2 separate regions of the Homo sapiens genome follow, and region 2 is linked to region 1. Evidence: promoter capture Hi-C in 16 types of primary human blood cells and fetal thymus (Javierre and others, 2016). All regions are on one chromosome and are shown on one strand. Each heading gives the region's core, a stretch centred on a gene start or on the middle of the fragment in contact. The rest is flanking DNA. Distances are from core to core; before and after follow the strand shown. Region 1 holds the start of PRICKLE2-AS2 (PRICKLE2 antisense RNA 2). Region 2 has its middle 87 kb from the start of PRICKLE2-DT.

Region 1 (2,716 bases), core at 68-2,567:
TGAAAGGGTACGAGGGAAACATGGCAATTACATATAATACCTGATCCTGGACTGGAACCTGCTCTTTAGGGAAACTAAATGCTATAAAGTAGGGGTTCCCAGACCTCAGGCTACAGACTGGTTAGGAGCAGGGCCACACAGAAGGAGGTGAGTGGTCAGTAAGGGAAGCTTCATCTGCATGTACAGCCACTCCCCATTGCTCCAACTACTGCCTGACCTCTGCCTCCTGACAGATCAGCAGCAGCATTAGACTCTCATAGGAGTGTAAACCCTGTTGTGAACTGCTCATGCAGGATCTAGGTTGTGTGCTCCTTACGAGAATCTCATGCCTGATGATCCATAACTGTCTCCCATTACCCCTAGATGGGACTGTCTAGTTGCAGGAAAACAAGCTCAGGTCTCCCACTGACTCTACCTTAAAGTGAGTTGTGTAATTATTTCAGTATATATTACAATGTAGTAATAATAGAAATAAAGTACATAATAAATGTAATGCACTTGAACCATCCCAAAGCCATCCCCACCCCCTGGCCCCAGTCTGTGGAAAAATTATCTTCCATAAAACCGGTCCCTGGTGCCAAAAAGGTTGGGGACTGCCTCTATAAAGGATAACTTTTGGTCAACTGAAAAAAAAATGGAACATGGGCAATAGATAAAAGTATTATGCTAAATTTACTGTGGTCAATTAATAATGGTGATAATGTGGGAGAAGATCTTTACTCTTGGGAAATATATATGGAAGGATATGGTGGTAAATGGCCCAGATGGATGCAATTTGCTCTCAAATGGTTTATAAATAAAATGTGTGTGTGTGTGCGTGTGTGTGCATGCATGTGAACATGAAAGAACAAATGTGGCAAAAGGTTAACAATGGATCAATCTACGTAAAGAGTACATTACAGGTGTTGTTTGTTCTATTTTTATAACTTTTTTTAAGTCTGAAATTATTTCCAAATAAAAAGTTTCTTTAACATTAGAATATATTCATCTGATATGATGGTTTTTAATTCTGAAGGAAATTTGGAAACATCTGGACACATTTTTGGTTGTCACTATTAGGATGGGATTCTCCTGGCGTCTAGTAGGTAGAGGCCAGAGATGTTGCTAAACATCCTACAGTGTGAAGGATGGCTTCCTTGCCTCCACACAGAATTTTCCAAACCAAACTGTCAACAGTCTCAGAAGAAACCCTGATAAAATGGAATATTACACAATAATGAGAACGAATAACTACACCCAAGAACATGGATGTATCTCATAGAAAATGCTTGGACATGCAAAAAGAATATGTGCTGTATGATTCCATTTATATGAAGTTCAAGAACAGGCTGAGGCTATCTATAGTGATACAGGTCAGGGCAGTGGGAGGAGGGGGTATGAAGAAGGCTTCTAGGGCACTGCAATTGTTCTATAACTAAATCTGGATGGTGGCTGTAAAACAATACACATGTGTAAAAATTCACTGAGATGTAGTTTTAATATTGGTTTGCTTTATTCTGTGTAAATTATATCTCAATAAAATGGAGTAAAAGTAAAGCAACGTTTGGCCAGGTGTGGTGGCTCATGCCTGTAATCCCAGCACTTTGGGAGGCCAAGGAGGGTGGACTGCTTGAGCTCAGGAGTTCAAGACAAACCTGGGCAACATGGTGAAACCCTGTCTCTACTAAAAATACAAAAATTAGCTGGGCATGGTGGTGCGTGCCTGTAGTCCCAGCTACTTGGGAGACTGAGGTGGCAGTATCACCTGAGCCCAGGAGGTGGAGGCTGCAGTGAGCCGAGATTGTGCAACTGTGCTCCAGCCTGGGCAACAGAGCGAGCCCCTGTCTCCAAAAAATAAACAAATAAATAAATAAAAAATAAAACAATGTTTGTTAAAGGGTCAAATTTTAACATTGGATATGCCTATAAAGAAATTAATCAGCTAAATATCATATACTCCAGTAATTTTTTGTTTCAATTTCGTTCCTGGGATAACTGTCAGGGCAATAGCAGCTGGGGCCTCCAATCGCTTGCTTACTCTGCTGCTTATCTCTTACATACAAATCATAAAAGCCGATTTACAACAGCCTAATCACTTCCAGAGCCTCCCCAATATGAAAGCAGAGAGGAGAGGATAACAACCTAAGATGATGAATGAGTGGTTTGAGTGGATGAACTCTAGTAAGAAAGGAAAGAAAACATCTTCAAACTCATGTCTAGAAACAAAAGGTGGACACAATGATCTTTGCAGGGCTTTCCAACCTAGCTCTTGAGTAGAATTAGGGTCAGCATAAATAACTTAGCAAATACTATTAATTCCCCAGCATGCTGTTTTCCCGAACCTGTCTTTCATAAGCCCAGAAGTGAAATGTTTTTGAGAGCATCCTGCTTGTGAACAGATTCCTATTTCCGTGAGGAGGTGACCTCGAAGAAGAGCAGCTTCTATTCTGCTGGGAGGTGTACTGCCTTCTGGTATCAGGCTTCTGCATCCCGGGAAAGCTCGGGATAACCTGAGGCACCCCCTTGAAAAACAAAAGAGCTTGATCAGAGCAGGAGGGTCCTGTTGCACAAGCCCAGCATCTACTATCAGTTTCACCTAAATGTAAGCCATTCATTCCCCTGGACTATGTGTGGGTGGGACTGGAAATACTACCTGCTCACTCTAGAGAGGAGAAATGCCTCTCTTCTGATTCATTAACTCAGATTTTCCTCCAGGGTCTTCTTGCATGCAGGGCAT
Region 2 (2,716 bases), core at 148-2,647, 260 kb after region 1:
TGACTTTCCAAGACTTCTTCACCTCTTTAGAGCTCCATAATATGGGTATAATGATATACCTACCTCACAGGACCTCTGAGAGGATGAATGTTGACAAGGCATGACATTTAATTTACCATAGTCCATGTTGTAAATATCCTTATTTTGACCTCCAACTATTTGTGGAGCTATTAAAACCTCTTGCAAATATCTAAAAAAAGATCATCTTGAGGTGACTCTGCTTATTCAGGCACCCAACCACAGTTCATGGAAGTCTTACTTATACCAGAAGAAACATGTTAACTCCAGGGCTACTGGCAGAATAAGGCTTGTTTCCTTCTCTTGCAAAGTTGAGAAGATCTCCAGATAACTCATATTGGGCCACAAAATCACTGGAAGAAGCTTGAAGATCACTTTCCAAACCCTTTACATTATAGATGAGAAAACTGAGGCCAAAGCAGCTGAGGGTCACCCAAGGTTAGAACAAGGCCCACATCCCAAATGCACATTTACAGAAACAAGCTCTTTTCATGTGACAGTGATTTCCCCAGGTCCCAGCCAGGTGACATCTACAATCTACAAAATCATGAACTCACCTAACTTTCAGTTTCCAAACCATACTTGTCCAGCAGATCCAAAACAACCACCTGAAACCAGGGTGTGACATTGACAGTTCACTGGAAAAGCACTTTCTTGTTTTTGTCTGTCCATTTTCTTCCCTCTCTTCCTCTCTCTTTCCCCCCAACCCCTTCTTTCTCTCTTTCTCCTTGTCTCCTGCCCTCTCTCTCTCCTTCTTTTCCATCCTTCCTTCCTCTGTTCTTCCCTTGTTTTAAAAATATGTGACCTCACTCCCCAATATAAAACTCATGTGCATAGCCAGTTTTAGCAAATTTGGGGTGTGTGTGTGTGTGTGTGTGTGTGTGTGTGTGTGTGTATACTCACCATGTTTGGAAAATGAATTCCTAGAAATAGAAGGGCTAACTAAGCCACTTATACGGGATCCTTATAGCCCAGGACTTATGGAGATAAAGTTCTGCATCAGCACGCTGGCAACCCTCCTCTGTGTATTCTAAGCCCTCAAAGCCATGTCATTTCTCTAGCTATATTTTCTCATACCCTCCACTTACTTTTCTACACAATGGTTAGTTAATTCTTCCAGCTGTGATGTTTGTGGTGCCCGCAGGATGCTAGGTGACTTGCACCACAGCCCTATCACCACAGCCCTATCACCAGTTGATTTTCATGCTGTTTTCCTGGCCACTTCCTAAAGAGCAGTTTCCTGTGAATTTTGCATTTTTTACATCTATTGTTTATAGATTTCCTTGGCATCTTCACGGCACCTTTAGCACCATTTTTTGCGGCCCTTTCCTGATATCACAGGGCCATAGTGTCATGAGACCATGCAGTAATGGCAGGGGAGAAGGATGGAGAAGTCACAGACTGACAGCATATTCGTACTGTGGAAAGCATAGAAGGGCTGTGCTGAATGCTTATAATTTTATGTTGCCTTGGCATCCATTCTAAATATAAGTTTAACTCTCTCATGCCAGAGACAGAGCTCAGTGTCACTTTTGACAGTTTCCAGTTCTATACCACACCCAAATGGCTCAAGCCAGGAGCCAGAGGTAAGAACTTAGCAGAGATAAGAACTTAGCCCACCTAGCAGACTGGGCTTCCAGCTTTCCCTGCAATTTCCCTTACATGAACCATTTAGGCATGTGCCTGTGAACTTAAAGTGACCCACATCTATTCCCAAATATGTATAGATGGTTGCCACATTGTCTTCTGTCTCCCTGCCTGGGCTCCCTGAACTCCCTGTGTGTGGCGGCCTCCAGGCTTGCTGTGTGCCACCAGGGTCTGTAAGTAATAAAACCTCTTAAACTTTCACATTGCAATTGTGTCATTGAAGCCCTGCAGCCATCAGATCCCCGAGCCCCACCCTGACAGTGAGGCCACCTACAGGGACCCATGCAGGTGGATCTCCTGCTGGTGCACTTTTGTCCAGGCTGCTGGGGATGGTTGCTACCAGCTAAGTCGATAGAGAAACCCAGAGTTTCATTCAAAACAAGGACACGTTAGTCCTCATCAGCTGAAAGACACTCCACTGAGCAGTCATGAGAAAGCAACTCTCAGTGCTGTAATCAATCAATGAACATATAAAAACTAAAATACTTCTAACACAAATAGAGCTACAATAAATCAATGCTGATACATCATTGGCATTTAATCAATATTAATTTTTGAAAAACTGCTGAATAGAGCAGAGTTAAACAAACTAAGTATGCAAGAAATTTTAAAAAAAGGTGGGGGTGGGGAGAGTTTCCACCACCCAGACACAACCATCATTAGAATTTTGGCATATTTTCTTCCTGTATTTTTTAAATGTTTTTAAAATAATAGGAACAAATATACAATTTTCATTTATCAATATATCATAAGCTTTCCCCATTTCATAAAACTCTTTGTAAACATCATTGTTAATCGCTAAATTATTTTGATTAATACTCCAGTCCCCTATTGCTAGACCATTTCATAACCTCACTGCTAAATATTTTTGTTATTTCCAATTCATAATTATGAAAAAATAGCATTGCTATAAATACCTAAGTGATACAGTTTTTTTTTCTTTTTTTTCTTTTTCCTCTTTTTGGATTATTTCCTTATCAAGAATTCCTGGAAATGACAATGTGGAGTCAAAGGGCATGAATATTTTTCAGGTTTTTGATAATGCCTTGCC

What was found. The method cuts DNA at HindIII sites, captures the fragments that hold promoters and counts their contacts. A CHiCAGO score of 5 or more calls a contact.
Region 2: a fragment that was not itself captured here is called in contact with the fragment with the promoter of PRICKLE2-AS2 in region 1 in 1 of 17 cell types (megakaryocytes); the score reaches 5.3 in megakaryocytes.

What each region holds. Positions count from the first base shown.
Region 1 is chr3:64,102,153-64,104,868 of GRCh38, forward strand. PRICKLE2-AS2 (PRICKLE2 antisense RNA 2) reads left to right here and starts at 1,318. Exons shown (of 4, transcript NR_046701.1): 1 at 1,318-1,352; 2 at 2,341-2,581. All of the region lies in intron 7 of PRICKLE2 (prickle planar cell polarity protein 2), which reads right to left. PRICKLE2-AS1 (PRICKLE2 antisense RNA 1) reads left to right here. Exons shown (of 3, transcript NR_045697.1): 3 at 1-979. The HindIII fragment of the contact is 2,788 bases long and covers 167-2,716 here.
Region 2 is chr3:64,357,116-64,359,831 of GRCh38, forward strand. No RefSeq gene overlaps it. Among named protein-coding and RNA genes, the nearest start is that of PRICKLE2-DT, 87 kb to the right of the region's middle. The HindIII fragment of the contact is 2,037 bases long and covers 380-2,416 here.